Linked DNA regions of Homo sapiens: region 1 is linked to region 2. The links are contacts of gene promoters, found by promoter capture Hi-C in blood cells and fetal thymus (Javierre and others, 2016). All regions are on one chromosome and are shown on one strand. The core of a region is centred on a gene start or on the middle of the fragment in contact, and the rest is flanking DNA. Distances in the headings are between cores, read along the strand shown. Region 1 holds the start of GK-AS1 (GK antisense RNA 1). Region 2 holds the start of TASL (TLR adaptor interacting with endolysosomal SLC15A4).

The links. Contacts are between HindIII fragments. The CHiCAGO score rates a contact against its expected background, and 5 or more counts as called.
Region 1: a contact is called between a fragment that was not itself captured here and the fragment with the promoter of TASL in region 2, in 11 of 17 cell types (neutrophils, monocytes, megakaryocytes and 8 more). The highest score is 23.6, in neutrophils.

The regions. Positions count from the first base shown.
Region 1 is chrX:30,716,159-30,721,431 of GRCh38, reverse strand. GK (glycerol kinase) reads right to left here. Exons shown (of 21, transcript NM_001205019.2): 14 at 2,816-2,894; 15 at 1,917-2,013; 16 at 1,337-1,421; 17 at 691-811; 18 at 437-580. It overlaps GK-AS1 (GK antisense RNA 1), which reads left to right and starts at 3,333. Exons shown (of 1, transcript NR_046603.1): 1 at 3,333-5,273. The HindIII fragment of the contact is 6,655 bases long and covers 1-5,273 here.
Region 2 is chrX:30,575,785-30,580,977 of GRCh38, reverse strand. It overlaps TASL (TLR adaptor interacting with endolysosomal SLC15A4), which reads left to right and starts at 3,212. Exons shown (of 3, transcript NM_025159.3): 1 at 3,212-3,340; 2 at 4,112-4,226. RefSeq lists an enhancer at 2,981-3,190. The HindIII fragment of the contact is 8,514 bases long and covers 1-3,847 here.

The DNA.
Region 1 (5,273 bases), core at 1,386-3,885, 140 kb before region 2:
TTGTCCCAGCTACTCGGGAGGCTGAGGCGGGAGAATGGCATGAACCCGGGAGGCGGAGCTTGCAGTGAGCCGAGATTGTGCCACTGCACTCCAGCCTGGGCAACAAAGTGAGACTCCGTCTCAAAAAAAAAAAAAGGCTATTCTAACTAGCTATACCTGACAGTGTGGCAGTATTATTATCCTACACTAAAGGACCATAAACAGTAAAAGCAAATGATTTTTAAAAAGTGATTTTAGAAGTTCTTTTGATAAGCAACGATTTCTCTCATTCACATTTATTCAGTAAAGCCCAATATGCTTGGCAGCCGAATCTGCAATGATAACATTTACTATTTTACTTGGTTCCTTAACTTTTAACTAAACAGAAAAACAAAACTCCCGTGCACTAAGGTCGTTTTCACAGTATATCACTGAACATTTCATTCTTTAAATGTACCCTCCGCATTAATCTGAGGTTCAAACCGCTCCATCGTGACGGCAGACAAATCCTCGGGTTCGAGACTCCATACGCCGACTCCTTCTGCAGCCCCTGCCGCCATAGCCGCACCCAGTGCAGTGGTTTCGGGCATTGAGGGCTTCACTGAGGAGAGAGAGTTCCATCAATATCTTTGTGGTTACATATGCCCAAAGAACTAGTTATTCCACAAGAAACATTACTCTGGGAGTTTAAAGGAATGAAGACTTACTAACCTACTGGTATATACAGAATGTCTGCTTGTAGCTGCATAAGAATTTTGTTGCTGGTCATTCCTCCATCTACCTGCAAATGACTGAGTGGAATTCCACAGTCTCGATTCATGGCATCCAAAATCTTAAATAAACCAGTGCAATTAATGTTATAAATCTATTTCATAGTAACATCTCTGAAAATGGCAATCCTCCACTCAGAAACTCTCAAGAGCTTCCAAGAGCCTATGGAATAAATTGAGACTTCTTATTCTGGTCTTCTAAGCCCTCTTTGATCTGGTCACAGCCAACCTTTTCTCTCACTACACCTCTGCATTCACCTTGATATTCAGCTAAGCTATACAACTCTATTTTGCACCCTGTTTTTCTGCCTTGATGCCTATGTTTGTGCTGTTTCCTTTGCCTAATGTGTGCCACTCAGCCTCCCCACAACCATAAAATTCCCAGTGCCTGACAGGGAACAGGAACTTAGAAGGTAATGACAGCTGGAAAAAGGGGGAAAACCCTGCTTATATTTAGATTAGTATTTAGGCAGCCTTAATATTTGATTAACTACATTTTCAGTACTGAATAAATCTCGGGTGTTAACATATAACTTAAGAGTGATAAAAGTGAACTAAGTACAAGAAAACAGGCCCATATTTGTTACCTCTCGAGTTTGGAAACAAACAGCTTCTAATGCAGCAAAAGCAATATGGCATTTATTGGTGAACTGAGTGAGTCCACAGATTATCCTAAAAATACGCACAAAGATTTTCAGATTAGAATGATATAAACCAATCAATTTGAAATATCTCAAATATGAAAAGGTCAAATTTGGTAGACAGAAATGTCCAGGAAGAGAAAATTGGACATAATCATTAAGTAACTCAGAAAGTCCTTATATTTCACAATTCTGCATTCATGTATGAAAAAATTCATGACACATTTGAAAAGATGATGGCATCATAAAACTGAATCAGTATTCATTATGATGATGTCCCTTCACTATACAACTTACAGACATCATGAAGATAAAAGATAACATGAATACGGATATGGCAGGGGTTATTGTCAGCTGATTCATAACTTCTTGGAGCTTAAAGTTTCTGAAATTATATTCTCCAAAAAGAAAAGGTTTTCTCAACACATTATAATTATTTGAAAATAGATAAGAAACTAATAAGTTATTAACGACTTTGGTAAATAAATCAAGATCCCCAAAAGCACTCCATATTTTCAATACTTACCCTCTTGCGCTGGGCTCCCAATAAGGTGCATATAACCCCGAAAATGCTGGGACGAAGTAGCAGCCATAAGAAGTACCTACTTCTTTAGCAAGTTTTTCTAACATTAAAAACAAAACAAAACAAAAATCACACAAATATTGTGTATTATTATATAAGCATACCTATTTTAAAAATTAGAAAAATTAGGACAGGGGTTTTGGTTTCCAATTCATTGGTAGAGCAAAATGTTGCTAACTACAGTAGTATGCTAGGATCAACAGAAATGAGTTTCTCTCACATTAAATACCCCCCACTAAAATGTAGCCTAGCTCAAGAAATCAAGGAACCAGATTCATTTATTTAAGGTATTTTAGCTCATTTCCACTATTTTTAAGGTTGCTGACTAGGAGATGAAAAAGTGGCCTCTAGTGTGTCCCTAATCAGAAATGTATTTCTGATTGTCTCACCTTCAGGCAAAGTTAAGCAAGTGGATGAAAGAGTGAGTAGGTAAGTTCAAACTAATTATCTATAGACTGAAAACAGCCGTATTAATACTTAAATTATAGGTACCAGAGTTTTAATGCTCACTCTAATCTAAGAGTTAAAGCTCTTTCTCATCAGATAAATTTAACTCAACTTCTCTATCTGCAGGTTCTGGCAATCTCCAGTGTTCAATTTTACACTTGGGTAATTTTTATGCCCTACATTGCCAGTTTATTAACAACCACCACTAATTATGTCAATTCCTTGTTTTATAAATCTTCACAAGATAGTCTTTTGCATAAGTCAAACTCATAATAGGGATCCATATAATTTATGGATCACATTTGGGGCAAAGCATAAGTATTTACTTTGCAGAGATAAAATACTGAAATGTGTCATTTTTCAGATTTTCTAACCTTTTGTTAGAACACACTCACCAATTTCTTCTGAGGTCTTTATAATTCCAAGATTGTCTCTTAGCCAGCGAATAACAGCACCAGCTATAGCTACAGAACCCTAAAGAAAAAAAGGAATTCAAGACAGAATATATTTTATCACTATCCAAGGTTTTTATTGAGCATATTCTGTGTATGACACAATCAGATGGACAGAATTCAGTTTCCATTTTGAGACTCCGACAAATATGTAAACTAGGTCTTCTAATACAAACATAGTTTTATCTAAGTCACTAATAAAAGTTTTTCACGGGATGAGGAAAAGAAGTGAGCTTTCCAGCACACCCTTGGATTTGTCCCCATAGGTGGACATTGATCTTTGATCAGTTTGCTTCTTGAACAATTTTCTGTCTGTTGCTAAGCTACTGAGGTATGTTATCACTTAGAAATATATTGCCATATTGTTCATAAAATTATTGGGAGAGGCCACATTAAAAGTTTTTTCAAGTCTGTTTCCCATATCTAACAGTATAGTAAATCAAGAAAACAAAAAGCAAAGAAGCTAGCTAGTAAGTAATTTTTCTTTAAAACAAAATCACCTAGAGCTGTGGCAATAACAATAAAAACATATTTCAGAGTTGGATAAACTGGCTTTGAGTCCCAGTTCTAGTACTTAATTGCTGTGTAATCTTAGTAACTAATCTAAGTAACTTAGTAAGTTAATCTTAGCAAGTTCATCTAAGTAACTTGCCTAAGTTACTTAGGCTTTCTGAGCCTCCATTTCTTCACCTATAAAATGATGACTATGACAACACTTACCTAAACAAATTACTGTGAGGCTCAATATGAGAATATATGTGAAGGTTCTTACTAAATGTAAATATTGACTTCATTAATTTCTTTAATGTTAAAAAAGTATCAGCCAAATATCACTGACTGATGAATAGATAAAACGCAGTATGTCTACACAATGGAGTATTATTGGACTATGAAAAGGAATGATGTCTTAATACATGCTACAACATGGATGAGCATTGAAAACATTATGCAAAGTGAAAGAAGCCAGGCACAGAAGACGATATATTGTACGATCCCATTCATATGAAATGTCCAGAACAGACAAATCCATAGAGACAGAAAGTAGATTAGTGGTTGCCTGGGCTGGGGGATAGGGGGTGGTTATGGGGTTTCTTTTTGGGGTGGTGACAATGTTCTAAAGTTAGATTGTGGTGATGGTTGTAAAAATCTGTAAATATAGTATTACTATAAACCATTGAACTGTATATTTGAAAAGGGTAAATTGTGTGGAATATGAACTATATCTCAATAAAGCTATTATAAAAAGATCCTGAAGGCAAAAAAAAAAAGAAGTATCAGCACGAACCATTAGGAATACCAAGAAATTTTTTTTAGCTCTGATAGTTCATTCATATAGATTATTAATGTAAATTACTTCCACAGAGTCACTCCAAACCAAACGTCAGGTAATATTAAATGTAGGGACCTGTCCTCAGTTCTATTAACTGAATTACAAATGGTCATGCCTTCTTGTTGTCAGTTGTCAAAATGTAAGTAAACTAGAGAATGAATATGCTGGTATATTCCATCATTCATAGCTTCTATGAGAAGTTACTATGTTACTGCAAAGCTACAGAATGCCACAATTGTTCTGTTTATACATTTTTATATATGTAGACATACATACAGTACTCTGTATCATTACATATATAAAATGGCTTTTTAACCACAGGAAGTATTTGAGGAACAGATCTGGCATAGCTGTGCAAATATGACAAGGCTTTAAAAATGGGACAAAAACAATTCAAGAAATACCTTACAAGGGACTCTAACACAGCTCATTCCCTGCCTAAAATAAGTTGTTGTATTAAGTTTGACACATTTACATATTTAGGTACTTAGTGGGATCATTCAAGAGAACTAAGTAAAATTTTGGTTTAAAGAGATTTAAGATTCAAATTTCCTTTGGAAACAGACAATTCAGAGATAGCAGCTGCCAAATACTAGTAAATATGTAAGAGTTTCTAGACCAGTGCTGTCCAACAGAAATATAAAGTGAGTCACATATGTAATTTATATTTTTGCCACATTAAAAAGGTAAAAGGAAGGTAAAATTAATATTTTATTTAACCCAATGTATTAAAAAAAATTTCAACATGAAATCAATATTAAATTATTGAGATTTTTTTTTGTACTATCTTTGAAATCTGGTATATACTTTACACTTACAGCACATCTCAATTCAGACTAGCCACATTTCCAGTGCTCAATAGCTGCATGTGGCCATGGCTGCCATGGGCAGTATAATTCTAGACCTAATTGAAAAAGAAAAACAAAAACAGGTGTCCCTCCTCCTTATACTCTCAAAGACACTGTCCTTAAATAGCATCTAACCAAGAAATGCATACATAATTGTTTTAGGCAAGTACAGTTAAACTGCGAATTTTTAGAAGCCACTGTGCTAGGAGTCTAGTAAAGTGAT
Region 2 (5,193 bases), core at 1,963-4,462:
GACCTACTCTACGGTGTCTCATGACTGTGGATGAAGCAACACTAAAGTGAAATAAATCAATGTTTGGCCCTACAGGTGCTATGGTCTCTTGATCACAGCTAAATCCTTGATGAGCTAAAAATGCCTGAAGACATCACTGAACCTGATTTTGTAAGATTACACTGTAACTGAATTTGCCCCTGGGGCAATGAGTCTGGTGTTTCCTGTGATGGTAGGTCAAGTCAGATTCAGGACTAGTTGAGAAACTGTCCTTATCATGGCTCATACATGAGAGCATGCCTTCTAAAGTGGATTTAAGTAATGTTTCATGAAAAAATAATGCAGAAAATCATGACTAACAAAAATAAAAATGCTAGTATACTTTAAAATATATGACATTTTAAGATAAGTCGTTGAACAAAAGTAAACAAAATCAAACCCATTAAGTGGAAATGTTCACCTCTTAAGAGTTTGGAACTTAGCTTTGTTTTTTGTTTTGCTTTGTTTTGTTTTGTTTTGTTTTTTGTATCCATAGAACTTAGTTTTGATTGGAGTTAGGTAGAAAAAGACAGTGAAGTAGTTATGATTTGGGCAGGCTTATTCTTTGTTGGTTAACTTGAAGCAGTCAGGGTAAACCAGATAAATGATTTTGAAACCCTTAATTTTTCTGCTTTTGGGCAAGAAGAACTGACCCATTTGCAGATAGACTTGTCTGTCCTCCAGAAAAGACATAGATTATAATACATTTGGGCCGTACAATCAAAGTTAAATATGACTTAAGAATACTAGTTTTTAAAATGAAAAAGTAATACATACACACAGAAATTTCAAAAGGGTATAGAATGAAAAATGAGTCTTGTTCCTGAAACACAATTGCTTATTTCTGATTTCTTGTGTGTAGCATAAAAAAAGAAATATTCTAGAAAGGCTATAACAAATGCTGGTGAGGATAGGGAGAAAAGGGAACTCTCATACACTGTTGGTGGGAATGTAAATTAGTACAACCACTATGGAGAACACTTTGGAGGTTCCTCAAAAAACTAAAAATTGAGCCACCATAAGATCCAGCAATCGGACTGCTGGGTATCTACCCAAAAGAAAGGACATCAGTACATTGAAGAGATATCTGCACTCCTATGTTTGTGGCAGCACTGTTCACCATAGCTAAGATTTGGAAGCAACTTCAGTGTCCATCAACAGATAAATGGATAAAGAAAATGTGATACATATACACAATAGAGTACTATTCGGCCACAAAAAAGAATAAGATCCTGTCATTTGCAACGACATGGATGGAACCAGAGGTCATTATGTTAAGTGAAATAAGCCAGAAACAGAAAGTCAAACATCACATGTTCTCACTTATTTGTGATATCTAAAAATCAAAACAATTGAACTCATGCACATAGAGAGTAGAAGCATGGTTACCAGAGGCTGGGAAGGGTAGTGGAGGGCTGGTGGGGCAGGTAGGGATGGTTAATGGGTGCAAAAACTAGTTAGAAAGAATGAATAAGACAAAGTATTTAATAGCACAACAGGGATACTGTAGTGAATAATAACTTAATTTTACATTTTAGTATAACTAAAATAGTATAATTAGATTTTTTGTAACACAAAAGATAAATGTTTGAGGGGATGGATACCCCATTTTTCATGATGTAATTATTATGCATCATATGCATGTATCGAAACATCTTATGTACCCCATAAATATATACACCTACTGTATACCTACAAAAATTAAAATACAAAATTTTAAAAAGAAATATTCTATTACATAAGCATGTATATACATATATTCCTTAAAAATACAAACTGGAAAATGAGTTCTTGCTAAACAATATATGTTAGAGATCTTTTTTTTTCTTTTTTTTTTTTTTTGAGATGGAGTCTCGCTCTGTCACCCTGGCTGGAGTGCAGTGGCACAATCTCAGCTCACTGTGACCTCCACCTCTCGGGTTCAAGGGATTCTCATGCCTCAGCCTCCGAGTAGCTGGGATTACAGGTGCCCACCACCACGCGTGGCTAAGTTTTGTATTTTTAGTAGAGACAAGGTTTCACCATGTTGGCCAGGCTGGTCTCAAACTTCTGACCTCAAGTGATCCACCTGCCTCGGCCTCCCAAAGTGCTAGGATTACAGGCGTGAGCCACCGCACACAACCTACATAGGATTTTAAGTATGCATACGTTCTCATTTACTTGGCCAATATCTTATTTATGGATATAATTTTTTCTAGTCATTTATTTTCTCAAGCAATGCTGCAACAAATATCTTTTCACATAAGTCTTTGTGTACAAGTGTAAACATATAGCTTGGACAAATTTATAAAAAATACAATTGTTGGGTCAAAGGGTATGAATATTTGTATTTGAGAGATACTGGGAAATTGCCCTCTAAATATGTTTACAATCTCATCAGTAGTGTTTGAGAGTGCTTGTTTCTTCACAACTTTGCCCACACCATGTATTATTGTTTTGACCTTCGGTATTTGGAGAGGGAAAACTTTTTTCTTTTTTTTTTCTTTTGAGACGGAGTCTCGCCCTGTCGCCCAGGCTGGAGTGCAGTGGCGCGATCTCGGCTCACTGCAAGCTCCACTTCCCGGGTTCACGCCATTCTCCTGCCTCAGCCTCCCGAGTAGCTGGGACCACAGGCGCCCGCCACCGCGCCCGGCTAATTTTTTGTATTTTTAGGAGAGACGAGGTTTCGCCGTGTTTGCCAGGATGGTCTCGATTTCCTGACCTCCTGATCCACCTGCCTCGGCCTCCCAAAGTGCTGGGATTACAGGCGTGAGCCACTGCGCCCGGCCGAGAAAATTTTTTTCATTTACATTTTTAAAAATTATAAGTACCATTGAGAAATAATACTTCTTAAAAATTATAGATTAGTAACGAAACAGAATTTCCTAAAGTCATATGTGACTTTGGCTTTCTTTTGGGTGAAGGATCCCAGATAATGTACTTTTCTAGAAAGGAAATTTAATTCTGTTGCTAGGGTTCTTACAAAATGTGTAACCATAAACTATTTTAATAAGAGACAGTTTCGTAGATAGGTTTCATTTTTCGAAAAAGGGGAAGAAACACCATTCTGTGGCTTGATGTGGCTTTGTCAGTTACTGCCTCCCCACCTCCCGGGACTTCCCACTGCCTCTTTAGCACAAATCGGACTTGAACAAAAACAACTCTTTTTCCATGGGACCAATTATAAAAAGAATGGCTTTGCACTGAGCAGCTCAGTCTACTGGTCTCATCAGTGAAAGGCTTGTGAAAATTTCTGGAAAGAGCATTGGCTGGCTTGTTCATCTCTCTGTTTGGTCAGTTGCTGTGTTTCTGCCGGATCAGATGAGCAGATTGGTTAGTGAAGGTAAGAAAAAGAAAGCAAAGGACCCTAGAACTCCGCTATTATTTTTTGTCATCTGTCTTCTCACGCTTTCTTAGCCCTTTATCACGAGAGCGCTGATCCATTCTTATGACATCTAAAATGCTTTTCTAGCTTACCATATCAGAGACAAGTGGGAGTTTAAACAAGCATTCAGTGGAGTTGAAAAATAAAGAGAAATTAAGCCCAATACTTCCTTTCCTTACCTCCTCGTGTCCACATTCTAAGCATTTCTAAAACACTTATATTTTTACCTACAATTTTTGACTGATCTGAGCAAATATTTATTGTGTTATTTTTGCAGTCCTCTTTCACTAATTGCCACACTGGTTTAGCTTCTGCATTTTTAAAAGAAGGCCTAAAAACCTAAGCAGGGTTTTGCAGGGACAACACAGCTCTTGAATTCAGTTACGGTGATGCAGTTTTAGAGACGAAAACAATCACAGTCCTTTCCAATTGGATTTGACTCTCAATTATTCAGTTCAGCAAGCTTGTGATAGTGTTTTTCTGTGTGGCAGGATGTATTCAAAATGAATGCGATCTATAGTGAGGATGCTTTTCGACTTTCATCTGGGTGATTTGGGGAAAGCTTCCCTTTTGGTATTAAAGATAGCGCATGTACGAGTGGAGTTTTGTTTGAATTATCTTTAGACTCGCTCAAACATTCTTTGTCTTGCGCATATGAATCTGTGCTTAAATATAGACCTGGTTTGGACAGAATATTTATATTGATATTTTATAACATTTCTTGCATAGGTCAGTGTGAGAAGAAGATTGTTTCTGAGCTTGAGAAGCTTCTGGAGGATTGAAGAGTATTTGAAGTCTGTGTCAAACATCCATATCATAAGTGGAATTTTGGAGATATTCAAAGGTAGTACACTAATTCTATTATCTCAGAGCAAAATGATGTTTGAAGTATTTATATCAAGTCACTGAGACATTTCTCATCTCATATGTAGTGATTATTTTAGATATATAAGATATTGTCCCTCTAGGCTCTTAATAAACATTATACAATGTAAATATGCCTTCATTAACTAAATATGGTTTTTTCCCCCTCCCAATTTTTATTTAGAAATGTTTCAAATCTATATAAAAATTGAAAGAATAGTACAACGAACACCCATATTTTCATCATGTGTATTAATCAGTGGTATCTTTTTGCCACATTTACTTTCTCTCTCGCTTTGTCTTTCTCTGTCTCTGCCTGTCCTTTTCTCTCTCTCTATATGTGTATATATATATTCACACACACGCATGCACATATGCACAGTTTTTTCCCTGAATGGTTTGAAAGTATGTTGCTGACTTTAGGACACATGTCACCCCTAAATTCTTGAGCATGTATCTCCTAAAAATAAAGGCAGTCTTCTATAACACATTACAACACCACGGAAACATAACATCAACACAATACTATTATCTAAGATGTGATACACATTCAAATTTTCCTAATTATCCACATGTCCTTTAGAATCTTTTTATGTTTTAAATCCAGGATCCAATCAAGAATCTTGCATTGCATTTGTAGTTGACATGCCTACAATTAAGTAAATGTTAATGAAATTGGCATAATTAACATGATTAACAATGATTAACAATTATAACACCAAAGAAATTTATATCAGTACAATACTATTATGATAGGTTTCTTATTTTTTTAGTCCTCTCATTTTGCATCAAAATACATTGAAAGTGATTCAAAAAATGATCCAAAAGGTTTAATTTTTCAATTTATATCAAGAAGGAGTATAAAGAAAAATCCAAACTATGATAAAATATATTTACTAATATTTCTGCACCAAAGTTTACATTTTCTGAACTAAGAAAATTCACAC